Linked DNA regions of Homo sapiens: region 1 is linked to region 2. Evidence: promoter capture Hi-C in 16 types of primary human blood cells and fetal thymus (Javierre and others, 2016). All regions are on one chromosome and are shown on one strand. Each heading gives the region's core, a stretch centred on a gene start or on the middle of the fragment in contact. The rest is flanking DNA. Distances are from core to core; before and after follow the strand shown. Region 1 overlaps USP9X (ubiquitin specific peptidase 9 X-linked). Region 2 holds the start of CXorf38 (chromosome X open reading frame 38).

Evidence for each region. Contacts are between HindIII fragments. The CHiCAGO score rates a contact against its expected background, and 5 or more counts as called.
Region 1: a fragment that was not itself captured here is called in contact with the fragment with the promoter of CXorf38 in region 2 in 6 of 17 cell types (monocytes, naive CD8 T cells, neutrophils and 3 more); the score reaches 8.0 in monocytes.

Annotation. Positions count from the first base shown.
Region 1 is chrX:41,205,434-41,212,641 of GRCh38, reverse strand. USP9X (ubiquitin specific peptidase 9 X-linked) reads right to left here. Exons shown (of 45, transcript NM_001039591.3): 32 at 7,149-7,208; 33 at 1,960-2,133. Among named protein-coding and RNA genes, the nearest start is that of LINC02601, 67 kb to the left of the region's middle. RefSeq lists an enhancer at 803-1,520. The HindIII fragment of the contact is 6,191 bases long and covers 2,053-7,208 here.
Region 2 is chrX:40,642,104-40,649,546 of GRCh38, reverse strand. It overlaps CXorf38 (chromosome X open reading frame 38), which reads left to right and starts at 1,986. Exons shown (of 7, transcript NM_144970.3): 1 at 1,986-2,242; 2 at 2,406-2,540. The coding sequence starts at 2,027. It overlaps MED14 (mediator complex subunit 14), which reads left to right. Exons shown (of 31, transcript NM_004229.4): 31 at 1-1,242. RefSeq lists silencers at 1,770-1,950, 1,786-2,085, 2,206-2,355, 5,016-5,310 and enhancers at 2,606-2,805, 4,493-4,722. The HindIII fragment of the contact is 2,915 bases long and covers 1-2,720 here.

The DNA of each region.
Region 1 (7,208 bases), core at 3,899-6,398, 560 kb before region 2:
ATAACAAGTCCCAAAGTAAAACTTCCATATGACAGGCATGTATATTTATCAGTAATGAACTCATTAACTATTTCTAATAGAAGCCCTTAATCAATTTTCAAGTCAAACAATTTGTTTTGTCAATGTTTTTCTTGTAAAATCTTTTTTTATTTTTATTTTTTTAGGCTTTTTTTTTTTTTTTTAATTGATCATTCTTGGGTGTTTCTTGCAGAGGGGGATTTGGCAGGGTCATAGGACAATAGTGGAGGGAAGGTCAGCAGATAAACAAGTGAACAAAGGTCTCTGGTTTTCCTAGGCAGAGGACCCTGCGGCCTTCCGCAGTGTTTGTGTCCCTGGGTACTTGAGATTAGGGAGTGGCGATGACTCTTAACGAGCATGCTGCCTTCAAGCATCTGTTTAACAAAGCACATCTTGCACCACCCTTAATCCATTCAACCCTGAGTGGACACAGCACATGTTTCAGAGAGCACAGGGTTGGGGGTAAGGTCACAGATCAACAGGATCCTAAGGCAGAAGAATTTTTCTTAGTACAGAACAAAATGAAAAGTCTCCCATGTCTACCTCTTTCTACACAGACACGGCAACCATCCGATTTCTCAATCTTTTCCCCACCTTTCCCCCCTTTCTATTCCACAAAACCGCCATTGTCATCATGGCCTGTTCTCAATGAGCTGTTGAGTACACCTCCCAGACGGGGTGGTGGCCGGGCAGAGGGGCTCCTCACTTCCCAGTAGGGGCGGCCGGGCAGAGGCACCCCTCACCTCCCGGATGGGGCGGCTGGCCGGGCGGGGGGCTGACCCCCCCACCTCCCTCCCGGACGGGGCGGCTGTCCGGGCAGAGGGGCTCCTCACTTCCCAGTAGGGGCGGCCGGGCAGAGGCACCCCTCACCTCCCGGATGGGGCAGCTGGCTGGGCGGGGGGCTGACCCCCCTACCTCCCTCCCGGACGGGGCGGCTGGCCGGGTGGGGGGCTGACCCCATCACCTCCTTCCCGGACGGGGCGGCTGGCCGGGCAGAGGGGCTCCTCACTTCCCAGTAGGGGCAGCCGGGCAGAGGCACCCCTCACCTCCCGGACGGGGGTAAAATCTTTTTTTACAATAGGTTTGATATGTTTTGTATACAAATATACCTTAAAGATAATGACAATAATCAATGCTATTTTAAAAGTCATTATTTCATTTGTATAGGAAATACTACCATAGCTTTGTCATCTTCTAAACTTACTGTATTTACACTATTATAATCACTCAAGTTCTAAGATAAAGGGCAAATTTATAAATAACACCTGTAGCTATATGCAAAATGCCATTTTATTTCCTCAGGAATAATCTTCTGTAAAAGAATGTAAGAGTAGGCCAGGCGCAGTGGCTCACGCCTGTCATCTCAACACTTTGGGAAGTTGAGGTGTGACGACTGATTTTGAGGTCAGCAGTTTTGAGACCAGCTTGGGCAACAAGAGATTCGATCTCTAAAAAAATTTACAAATTAGCCAGGTGTGGTGGCACATGCCTGTAGTCCCAGCTATTTGAGAGGCTGAGGCAGCAGGATTGCTTGAGCCCACAAGTTCAAAGTTACTATGAGTTACGACCATGCCACTGAACTCCAGCCTAGGCAACAAAGAGAAACCTTGTCTCTTTCAAAAAAGAAAGAAAGAAAAAAAAAGAGAAAGGAAAAGAAAAAGGAGAAAGGAAAGGAAAGGAAAGGAAGAAAGAGACTGTAAGAGTATAATATAATAAAATGGCTAAGAGATCAGGCAGAGTAGAAGGAACTAAAAGTTAACTGACAAAAACAAAAAAAAGCCCCACAGCAGTAAGGTATGCAAAGTATATAAATCATTCTGTTTCAGGTATTTAGTAATCAGTGATATACTCCACTTTTGTATGTAAGTACTAGTAAAAATTTTATTTCTGTTAGTATATACATGGTACAACATATACTTTCAATGTGTAATTAGTACTTACCTATGTGGGCAGCCTTGGCAGATCTTCTGATCAGCAAAGGAACCTCCTAAGACTTTACTTAGCATAGCTGGATGTCCTAAAGCTTTTAAAGCTTCATCTAAACTATCCACCAATGAATTAAAAAATTCTAAAGCATCGTGTTGTTCACGCAGATTAACAGGCTCACCCCAAAGCCTAAGAAATGAATGAAATAAAACATGTAACATGTAACATTCACAGAACAATATGTACAACTATATTTTTCAGGGGAAAAAAAAGCAACAAGACCACAAACAACAGTATATAAAACCGAGATTTTATTCCTCAATTACATGGAAAAAGTAGGAAAAAAAGAATGTGCTTTCCCTGTAGAATGTAGTGGGGTAAGAGAGTGAGCCTCATAGTAAAACTAGTACTCTAGCGGCAAAGAACTGCCACAAAACTAGTGGTGTAATTGATGGATAGTACGGCTCCAGGAAGGATGGTTGCTTCAGGTGGTATGACACATGCATGCATTTTGAATCCAATTAAAGATACTATTAAGATGAGGTGGTGGATCTCACTCTTATGTGGATGTTACAATCACTATTTTATTTCTTTCATTTTGCTTAAATTTTGGATTATAAATAGTAAAAAGATCAGATCTAGTTACTCTTAAATTTATTTTTTTCCCAAGTGAAGAGAGAAAGGTTTAACTTGTTCTAGAGTTAATCTCTTGAGTAATCTAAGAAAAGACACCATCACTACATACCACAAAAATGAGAACTCATACTGCTAAAACTCAGGCACTGCTGGAAACTATCAATAATACCTGATTTTGTATATACAGAATAATGTATATAGAGAATTTAAGTGTATTTGTTCTAAGCAAGAAATGACATTTTAAAGTATGCAAGAACTGTCTGTTTATACTTTTGTAAAAACCTTTTCTACATAGCAAATAATCTGATCTCTATTATATTTTACACAAGTAAAAATTTGTATACAGTAAGTTTAAAATCAAATATATTATTTGTTAAAAATCAGCTTGTTTCATTACTGGAAATTACACCAGTCCGTTCTATTTACTTTCAAACCATATTCAACTCCTCAAACTTTCAAACATGTAATCAACTAATTTCAAAAGGGAAAAGGTACCCTTTATAAAGGAGAGATCTGTTAAGACACCAAGAAATCAAAATTAATATCACTTAATAATTAAGTGGATAACACATGCCTCCCAATACAGTGCAGTGAGAAACACAAAACATCAATTATGTAGTTTTATTGCCCCCACCCCCTCAACATTTAACATAAAGCTAATCATCAGGAAACAATCACACAAATCAAAAAACACATTCTGCAAGACAACTGGCCTGGATTCTTTAAAAATTTCAGTGCGATACAAGTCACAAGTTAGGGAGATTATTTTACATAAAAGGCAACTAAAGAGCTAACAGCCAAATCCTTGTGATTCCTTCATGAGTATCAGATTGGGATAGAGAGATAAGTTATAAAGACCACTTTTGGGAAATCGGAATATATACTGATGAATATTAGAGATTAAAAATCGTTATTATATTACTTGGATATAACTGTATCATACATAAGTAGGAAAATTGCCTTATTCTGATATATGATCTCTTATAAGATATATGTTGAAGTATGAAGGGGTGAAGCGTCCTGTTTGCAACTTCACTATCAACTTAAGAAAAAAGGCCGGGCGCGGTGGCTCACGCCTGTAATCCTAGCATTTTGGGAGGCCGAGCCGGGTGGATCACGAGGTCAGGAGTTCGAGACCACCCTGGCTAACACAATGAAACTCTGTCTCTACTAAAAATACAAAAAATTAGCTGGGCATTGGTGGCAGGCGCCTGTAGTCCCAGCTACTCGGGAGGCTGAGGCAGGAGAATGGTGTGAACCCAGGAAGGGGAGCTTGCAGTGAGCCGAGATCACGCCACTGCACTCCAGCCTGGGCGACAGAGCGAGACTCCATCTCAAAAAAACAAAAAACAAACAAACAAACAAACAAAACTTAAAAAAAAAATAAACCAAAAACCAAGCACACATATGGCAAGATAAGCAAATATGGCAAAATGTTAATTAGTAAAACCGCATAAAGAATATAACATAAAGGTGATAATTATACCTCTTCTTCATCTTTTCTGTAGGTTTGAAACTTTTCAAAATAAAAGAGTGGGGTGAGGAAGTGTAGTTAACTAACCCGCTTGTGTCAAGAGTAGATTATGTGTCTAAAGTGTGGATAATCCAAAGTGCTAGTCTATACAAACCGAGCTCCACTAGCACAGCGAGTAACTGAAAAGTCAAAAAAGCAAAGGCATTACAAGAGAAAAAATTGTAACTGAATGACAAGACGAAAGTTTAAAAAGTGTAAGCCTCAGCTGGGCGCAGTGGCTCTCGCCTGTAATCCCAGCACTTTGGGAGGCTGAGGCGGGTGGATCACCTGAAGTCAGGAGTTCAAGACCAGCCTGATGAATATGGTGAAACCCAGTCTCTACTAAAAATACAAAAATTAGCTGGGCATGGTGGCAGGCGCCTGTAATCCCAGCTACCAAGACAGGAGAATTGCTTGAACCCAGCGGGCAGAGGTTACCGTGAGCCGAGATCACACCACTGCACTCTAGCCTGGGCCACAGAGTGAGACTCTGTCTCAAAAAAAAAAAAAACCCAGTATAAGCCTCTGTTTGTGTTCTTCAGTTTGGAAGAGCATAAACAGAAATGCTAAAATAGCCTTAAGGCAGAGATGGAATTGGAATAACCTAGGGAAAGAAGACAGAACTGAAATAGTCAGAGAGGAGGGAGAATGGTATGCTGGGTGACGGGACTAAAAGCAAAATGAGAGATGGGAGGGAGGGTGGTCCACGCAAGACACTAGTACAGAGTAAGTAGAGGGCCTAGTTAGGGGAGGAAAAGAAATTTATACTGCTTTGTCAGAAGAAGGGAAGGCGGATCAGAGTATCAGGTGACCCTTCGTTCCCCGCTCCTCTCAGCTGGCCGGGAAGCACCTTGAAGGGATTCCAAGGAGGATTACTTACAAAACAAAACAAACCAAACCTCACTGCTATAAAGAATTATACCCCTTTTCATACACAGTAAGAGTTACGTGGTTGTACTGTAGTTATTTTAGCACAGTGCATGACGTAGTACTGACTTAAAGTCAAAGGAAACAAGATAAAAATGTAATCTGAGTTTTCTAACTTAAAAAGAAAATGGTGAGGGCAATTTTCCCTTTATAGATCTTTTCTAGCTATTAAATGAAAAAATAAAATATTGTTATTTTATAACCCTGAAGAAATACTGTATTAAGATAATGATAATTGGCCAGGTGCAGTGGCTCACGCCTGTAATCCCAGCACTTTGGGAGGCCGAGGCGGGTGGATCACCTGACGTCAGGAATTTGAGACCAGCCTGGCCAACACGGCGAAACCCTATCTCTACTAAAACTACAAAAAATTAGCGGGGTGTGGTGGGCCTGTCGTCCTAGCTACTTGAGAGGCTGAGGCTGAAGAATTGCTTGAACCTGGGAGGCAGAGGTTGCAGTGAGCTGAGATCGAGCCATTGCACTTCAGCCTGGGCAACAGAGCAAGACTCTATCTCCAAAAAAAAAAAAAAAAAAAAAAAAAAGGCCAGGGAGCAGTAGCTCATGCCTATAATCCAGCACTTTGGGAGGCAGGCAGATCACCTGAGGTCAGGAGTTCGAGACCAGACTGGCCAACATGGTGAAACCCCGTCTCTACTAAAAATACAAAACTTGGCCGGGCATGGTTGGCCCACGCCTGTAACCCCTGTTAACCCTAGCTACTCAGGAGGCTGAGGCAGAATTGCTTGAACCCAGGAGGCGGAGGTTGCAGTGAGCTGAGATCACGCCACTGTACTCTAGCCTGGGCGACAGAGCAAAGACTCCATCTCAGGGGAAAAAAAAAAATTGTATATATATAATAATAATAATAAAAAATTGCTGTTAACATCATAAGAAGACAGACATTATAATGTCACTCCTCATGGAGATAAACATTATCCCCTATGAAGTAGCGTTGCCTATCCATTCCACAAAAAGAAAAATAATACCACAATCTGATCAAGCCTCTAGATCTCATAAGGTGTTTATAGAAGATGCAGGTGACCAAGAAAAACAGAAAATAATAAACGACCACAGGGATTCCATCAACAAAATTCAGACTGTGGGAAAATTTACATGCTAAACTATTTGTCCTCCGATTCCCCCATAATTGTAAAGGGAAAAAAGAAACAGATGAATAATCAAGATCATTACCAACCATTTGTGGTAAATGGACCTCAACTGAATCTTATTTTTAAAAAATATCAGTAAAAACCAGTTATGAGATAACTCGGTAAATTCAAACACTGACAGAGATATTTGATATTAAGCAATTTTAAAAAAACATAATGGTATCATGATCATGTTTTGAGACAGACACTACAGACACATACTTAAGTATTTACAGATGGAACTAAGATTTGCTTCAAAACAATCTAGAAAGAAATAGGTAGGGGCCGGGCACAGTGGCTCACGCCTGTAATCCCAGCACTTTGGGAGGCTGAGATGGGAATCACCTGAGGTCAGGAGTTCGAGACCAGTCTGGGCCAACATGGTAAAACCCCGTCTCCACTAAAAATACAAAAAATCAGCTAGGCGTGGTGGTGGGTGCCTGTAATCCCAGCTACTTGGGAGGCTGAGGCAGGAGAATCACTTGAATCTGGGAGGCGGATGTTGCAGTGAGCCAAGATCACACCACTGCACTCCAGCCTGGGCAACAAGAGCAAAACTCCATCTCAAAAAAAAAAAAGAAAAAAAGAAAAAGAAAAAGAAAAAAAGAAAAAAAAAATAGGTTAAGAATATAGATTAAATGAGGCTGGCCACAAGTTGACTACTACTGAAGTTGGGTGACAAGTATACAGGGGTTCATACTATTTTTTCTACTTCTGTATTTATTAGATGTTTTCCTAATAAAAAGTTAATAATATGGTTAAGAGACTAAAGGATGTTGCCCTTACTTACTATGGCAGTTTCTACTTCTTCCTAAGGGGACCTAAAAAAAAAAAAAAAAACCCACCCAATTAAGGACAGTTTGAATATTACCAGTGCTTAAAAAAAGATGCCTTCCAACATGTCTTTTAGAGGTTTAATGTTAGTGTATTGAGATGTTCATTTTAAGAAGTATCTCTATTACTGTCCATCCATAGTTTACCTGAACTGTTTCCAAAATCCTCTGGGCACATAGTATTGCAGTCGAGAAGCAGCTAAATGA
Region 2 (7,443 bases), core at 737-3,236:
AGAACTACCAACTCTCTAGTTAATTTTGATGAAGATGTTTTCATTAATAGTCTGGTTTAGTATTAATTTAACCTTGAAATAAGAAATTGGTCCTGATTTGCCACCTTCATTTTTCCATCTGCTGAAATGCCATTTCAGAATGTATAAAAGTACTTTCAGAATTAGAAGAAAAGTGAGAGCTTCAGCAGAACGTGTCAAGTCGCTAATAACAGGAGTCGAACCTTATGTTTGAAAATTAACTGAGTGAGTTAAGTGCAAGCATAAACTAAAATTTATATGACTTTGAATTTAAGAACCACTAATAACTGTGTTCTAATTAACACAGTAATCTGTTCAGCCAAAGGATACTAACAGCCATTCTTTGGACTGTGGTTAATTTGATAACTTCAAGAAGTTATAACTTTGCTACCCTGGATTCTGATGCAATTTCAATATAAAAAGTTGTTCCTTTCATAGTTTTTCCCCCCAAAAGAAGTGCCTATTACATTTTACCTTAATGTTTATTTATCATCCAAGTGTTCTTGATATAAAATCAGTATACAGAAAATTTTAAGAGAACTTACATTCAAGGGACATAGAGGGAAAATGTTAATGTGTATTTCATTGTTTCTTGTGGAATTTTTTTTTCATTCGGTTTGAGAATGGACAGTGTGTCTAAGGATGTGATTTAAATTTACTTAGGATGGATTTAGCATTGAGGTTATTAAGACAAAGTTAGCAGAGGCCAGCCAGCACTGTGCTGCACAACTCCAGGAACTCCATGGTATGCTCACAATTTTCTGCAAGTTGCCTCCACTTCCAAGTGGCCAGTGATTTGTTAAAATACCTTGCCCAAGAATATAACTGATTGATGAAAGGGCATATTTAGGTCAATATAAAATAATAGCAAGTATTTACTGAGAGCTTACTGTGTGCTAGGCATTTTCTTAATATTTCAATGTGTATTTAATCCTCACAACAACCCAATGTGGTAGGTTATTGATATCCTCTTCTTAAAAATGAGTAAATGGAGGCCCAGAGAAATGTAATTTGCCTGAGATCAAATTAAGGTTGCTTAAGATCAAACTGCTAAGAAGGGGCAGTTTGAGTCTGAGCTAGTGCTCCTAAACACTGGACATTTTTGCTGTGAACCACAGTCGGGAAGGTTTAATGTTTAGACTCTTTCCTCAGAGGCTTTTAACTACACACAATTTTGACATGTTTTCCAAGCTCAGAAAGCTCATTAAAAACAACTAAAACTGACCTGACTTGTCACTTGGAGTTGACAATCCCAGTGCCTTCTGACCTTTGTGGCACTTCTTTGGAACTTAAATCAGACTTCCATGTGCAAGGAGCACTAATTATCATATAATCAAGAATACTAGATAATTATCGTCTAACCTTTGCTAGGTGCTTCAGGATGCCCTTATCTGGCTCAGGTGTGCAGCCTTCTAGAATCCAAGTGATGTGTTGCCCTAAACAGGCAAACGCCCCCTTCTGGGTGGTCCAGTGGCGGGGGATTTTGAGTTTTGGGTTAGCTTGGCACACCGCAGGCAGCCAGCGGTCACGTTTCACTAATACCTCAATTTGCTACAGCTGGTCTGTGGGCTTAGGAACCAGTAACTCTAGAATTGTATAATGCAAAGAACATACACGATTCAAGCAATGTGCCCTGAGCACCTTGTACATCTGGACAATAAAAAAAAGTTAAAACAGAAGTGCCCTACATTAGGAGAGGGAGTCGAATCGGATGCTGACAGGGTCTCTGTTTGGGGGACGAAGAGGGCCTAAGGGTTTCAAATAGTTAACTGCTTCCCCAAGCACCAAAGTTGTTAGACGTCAGACGTCAGACGTCACCCAAGTGGGGTGGAGCCGACGTGCCCCGGAAGTCAAGATGCCCCGCCCCGGGATCGGTGGCACCGCGCCGCGCAGGCGCAGGCGTCGCTGCCGCCGGCGCAGGCGCCGCTGCCTCGGGTACTTCCCAGGCTCCGCGCCTGCGCACTGCCGTCCGCCACGCCCCGCAACCTCCTGGTTCCAAGTGGGAGACATGGTGCTGTCGGAGCTAGCGGCGCGCCTCAACTGCGCCGAGTACAAGAACTGGGTGAAGGCGGGCCACTGCCTGTTACTGCTGCGCAGCTGCCTGCAGGGTTTCGTCGGCCGCGAGGTGCTCTCCTTCCACCGCGGCCTACTCGCCGCAGCCCCCGGCCTGGGGCCCCGCGCCGTCTGCCGCGGCGGCTCACGGTGCAGCCCTCGCGCCCGCCAGGTGAGCACCTGGCTCGGGGCCTTGACCACCGCCCCCACCCCACCCCTCCTCATCCCCGTTCCTGTCCCAGACCCAGAGCGCAAGTGTCCTGTTCCCTCCGCGATGCGGGGCCCACCGCGACGTCCCTCCCTCCTGGGCCCCTCCTCACCGCCGCCCCCTGTAGTTTCAGCCTCAGTGTCAGGTGTGCGCTGAATGGAAAAGGGAGATTTTGAGACATCATGTCAACAGAAATGGAGATGTGCACTGGGGAAACTGCCGGCCGGGCCGCTGGCCCGTGGACGCCTGGGAGGTGGCCAAGGTAAGCGCCTGAGGCGGGGACGGAAGGAGGAAGCGGCGGGTCACCCAGCACTCGGGGTGGCTATCTGGTCTTGTGGTCGCCGGGGCCTCATAAACAGATGCAGAGAGAGAGATTGATCAAGGGTCTAGGCGGTTCAGGGGTGGTATGCGGGACCCAACCCAGCTTAGTGAAGTAGAAGCTTTCTTCTACCCGTCTGCTTCCTGAGGGCATTTGAGTTTGTTACCCCTGCTTGGAAAGTTACAGGAAAGAGTTCTACAAGAGATACTGGGGCAAGATGCAGAGCGAGCATCATGAGCACAGGCAGGGAGGGAGGGAGACTCTTGTGTGGCCTGTTTGAGGGTAAGGCTCGCTGAACAGCTCATCAGCTCTTTTTTGGCTATAGGATGCCGTAAGGATGACAGAGTAAGCCAAGGGAAGTTAGGGCTAAAATAGCACCTTAAGTGCCCAGTTAAAGGCACTTTGGGTAGCTGGGAATGGGGTAGGCAGCCGGATCTGTCTTCAGATCTTGGCAATGTCACTTACTAAGTAGATCGAGTAGGAAATTTTTTTGCCCAGTAAGGGACGGAGAGGGACAGCCAGAAGTGGCTTCCTAACACAAATTGACTTTAGCAGTCAGTCTACATGCCAGTAGTTATCAGCAGGCACAGGGTGGGCACTGGAAAGGAGCAGTGCCTGGGAAGCAGATGATCTGAGTCCTGGATCAGCTGCCGTGGTGTGACACTGGGCCAGCTTGTGCTCCCCAATCTCAAAAATGAAAGGACGGCCGGGCGCAGTGGCTCACGCCTGTAATCCCAGCACTTTGGGAGGCCGAGGCGGGCGGATCATGAGGTCAGGAGATCGAGACCACGGTGAAACCCCGTCTCTACTAAAAATACAAAAAAATTAGCCGGGCGCAGTGGCGGGCGCCTGTAGTCCCAGCTACTCGGGAGGCTGAGGCAGGAGAATGGCGTGAACCCGGGAGGCGGAGCTTGCAGTGAGCGGAGATCGCGCCACTGCACTCCCGCCTGGGCGACAGAACGAGACTCCGTCTCAAAAAAAAAAAAAAAAAAAAAAAAAAAAAAAAAAAAAAAAAAAAATGAAAGGAATTGGGGCCGGGCGCGGTGGCTCATGCCTGTAATCCCAGCACTTTGGGAGGCCAAGGTGGGAGGATGGCTTGAGCTCAGGAGTTCAAGACCACCCTGGATAACATGGCAAAACCCCGTCTCTACAAAAAAATACAAAAATTAGCTGGGTGTGGTGGTGCATGCCTGTAGTCCCAGCTACTCAGGAGGCTGAGGTGAGAGGATCACTGGAGCCTGGGAAGTCGAGGCTGCAGTGAGCCGTGATCACACCACTGCATTCCAGCCTGGGTGACAGAGCAAGACCCTGTCTTAAAAAATTGAACTGTATCAGGGGTCCCCAGACTTTTGGGTATCACGAGCCGGTAAACCCACCACACCTACACCATCTTCCCCATTTTTTTCCACTGCAGCCATAGAGTTGCTGACTTCTACTTCTACCTAGAAAAGAGAAAAAAAACAGAAAGAAAGAAAACTCTGCCCTTTACAATGCCTGTCCCTCATCTGTTTGGTCTGCGTTGCTGCTTTCACACCATTGGAATCCTCTTGTAGCCTGTACTACCTCCTTATACCACTCTTTGCTCCTCTTGGTTGCTGTCACCTACAGACCTTCTAGTCCAACCCCATCCTCTCAGTTTCTGGGCTCCTGATTCCAGCATCCTCTGCTTCACTCCCCCTCAGCCTCCGGCTTGCATGCCCACACCCTGGACCTTGGCACAGAAAGTCTCAGTGTCTAACATCCTGCTGGCCTTTGGCACACTTATTCATGCACCCCTGCCCCCAACCCTGTGCCCCATACTACTTCCGCCTCTTTGAGGCTTCCACTGCTTCCTGAATACCCAGCACCCTCTGTCCTCCTGCCTGCCTTTGTCACCTCAGCTAGCCCAGATTCCATGGCCCATCATTATAATCCGTCCCTTGCTGTTATCTCAGCTTTTTTTTTCTCCTTTCTCTGAACTTGCCTGGCCCAACTCCAGTCCTGATGACATTTTCTGCTTCTGATTAGTGGGAAAGAATCTCACAAGGGAACTGACTGGTTTCACTTTCATTCTTGATCATGAGCCCCAGCGGTCTGGCCACATCTCTCTCTAGGCTTCAGTTTCTGGAGACTACTACTTTTCCCTGGCAAATCCCTGCTCCCGTTCCTCCGCCCTTGCTCATGCTTCACGGAATTGATGGAGGCCCTTGGACATACATAGTTGTCTCTCCTTATCCATGGGGTATTGCTTCCAAGACCCCCAAGGATACCAAAATCCACAGATGCTCAAGTCCCTGATATAAAATGATGTATGTGGTATTTGCATATTACTTACATACATTCTCCTATGTACTTTAAATCATCTCTAGATTACTTATAATACTTGATAGAATGTAAGTGCTATGTAAATAGTCGTTATGCTATATTTTTAAAAAATTTCGATTACTTTTTACTGTTGTATTATTTTTCTGAGAATTTTTCATCCACAGTTGGTTGATTCTATGAATGCGGAACTCGTGGATATGGAGGGCTGACTATACTTCCTCTTCTTTTTGCCAACACCAACTAATCTCCATGTGCACCATCTATTTCCTTCTGCTACAGAGGAGGAAGGGTGTCTCTCCTCTTATTGCCTCATACCTCCACTCGTGTGTTGGATCTTATCCCTTTTCTCTTGCTCAAGGCCTTTGAGGCTTCAGCTGTCCACTCTCTCTCTTGCAGCTCATTCCCATCTCCATAGAAAAAGCTTTAATATAGCCATGGTTTATTTAAATTTTTTTAAAAGAAACAATTAAACAGTTACCACATGACCCAGCAATTCCCCTCCTAAGTATATTCCCAGGAGAAATGAAACCATACATTCATACAAAAAAATGTACGCAGATGTTCATAGCAGCTCCATTCACTATAGCCAAAAGGTAGAAACAACCCAAATACCCATCAGCTGATGAATGGAATTTTTAAAATGCAGTATCTCTGTACAATGGGATATTGTTTTGCTGTAACAATGTAACAAAGGAATTAAGTACTAATACAAGTTACAATGTGGATAAATCTTGAAAACAGTATGCTGAGTGAAAGAAGCTAGTCACATATTATATTTATATGAAATGTCCATTTTATATAAATTCCATTTAGACTCCATTTGTAAGAAATGTCCAGGCGGGGCACGGTGGCTCAAGCCTGTAATCCCAGCACTTTGGGAGGCCAAGGTGGGCAGATCACCTGAGGTCAGGAGTTCAAGACCAACCTGACCAGCAAGGAGAAACCCTGTCTCTACTAAAAATACAAAAAATTAGCCAGGCATGGTGGCGCATGCCTGTAATCCCAGCTACTCGCGAGGCTGAGGCAGTAGAATCACTTGAACCTGGGAAGTGGAGGTTGCGGTGAGCTGAGATTGTGCTATTGCACTCCAGCCTGGGCAACAAGAGGGAAACTCCATCTCAAAAAAAAAAGAAAAGAAAGAAAAGAAAAGAAATATCCAGAATAGGCAGATCTATAGAAGCAGAAGTAGATTAGTGGTTGCCAGGGCTTTGGGGAATGAGGGATGATAGCTAATGGGTATGGGGTTTCTTTTTGAGGCAATGAAAATGTTCTAAAATGGACTGTAGTGGTGGTTGCACACCTCTTTAAATATGCTGGAAACCACTGAATTATAATGTGTAGATGGGTGAATTATATCTCAAGAAAGCTGTTTTTTTTAAAAACACTTGAATAAATAATTGGAAAATAAGATTTTAAGAGGCCGGATGTGGTGGCTCATGCCTGTTATCACAGCACTTTGGGAGGCAGAGGTGAGAAGACTGCTTGAGCTCAGGAGTTCGAGACCAGCCTGGGCAACATGGCGAAACCCCATAACTGTCTCCACAAAAAAATACAAAAATTAGCCGGGCGTGGCTGGGCGCGGTGGTTCATCCCTGTAATCCCAGCACTTTGGGAGGCCGAGACGAGTGGATCACTTGAGGTCAGGAGTTCAAGACCAGCCTGGCCAGCATGGTGAAACCCCGTCTCTACCAAAAATACAAAAAAAAATTAGGCAGCTATGGTGGTGTGTGCCTGTAATCCCAGCTACTTGGGAGGCTGAGATGGGTGGATTGCTTGAGCCCGGCAGGTCAAGGCTGCAGTGAACTGTGGTGGCACCATTGTACTCCAGCCTGGGCAACAGAGTAAGACCCTGTCTCAGAAAAAAAAGAGAAAAAAATGTCCCTTGATCCATTCTCTCCTGCTATCTCCCCATTTCTCTATCTGCCTCCCATACACAAATCCAGCAGAGCATCTCAAAAAAGAGGTTTCATACCTGTTATCTTCTCCTCTGCTCCCACTTCCTCTTCAACCAACTCCGCCTCGGCTTCTGCCCCTGCCACTCCACTGCATCTGTGACCTCGTCTCTCTTACCTCCCAGAGCCATTTGGCATTACTGGCTGCTCTTGAAACCCTCTTGGCTTTCCTCCCATCTCCCTGGCTCTTCCTGCTCAGCCTCCTTCTGAATGTCTTTTGGCCTTCCTCAGGACTCAGGGCCAGGCCTCTTCTGTTCCCTTCTTCTCTGGTGACATTGTCCAGGCCTGTGGAGTTAAATGCTAACTGGCTCCCAAATTGATGGCTCTAGCCCTGCCCTCTCTTCTGAGTTCTAGACGCACACATCCAACTGCTTACTTGCCCCCTCCACTCCATCGCCTGTGGAGCACATTTTATTTAGTTCTAAAGTAGAACAGTTTGTCTTTGCCCCCCACCCTATGCCCGTTCCCCATTACCAACTTTCTAGAGTCACTCTTGTTTCAGCTCTTTCCCTCTCAGTACCCCCTCTCTCCTTGTTTGTACCTGCAAAATACTTTTGGAATCTTCTTTTCCATCTCCACATCACAACTCT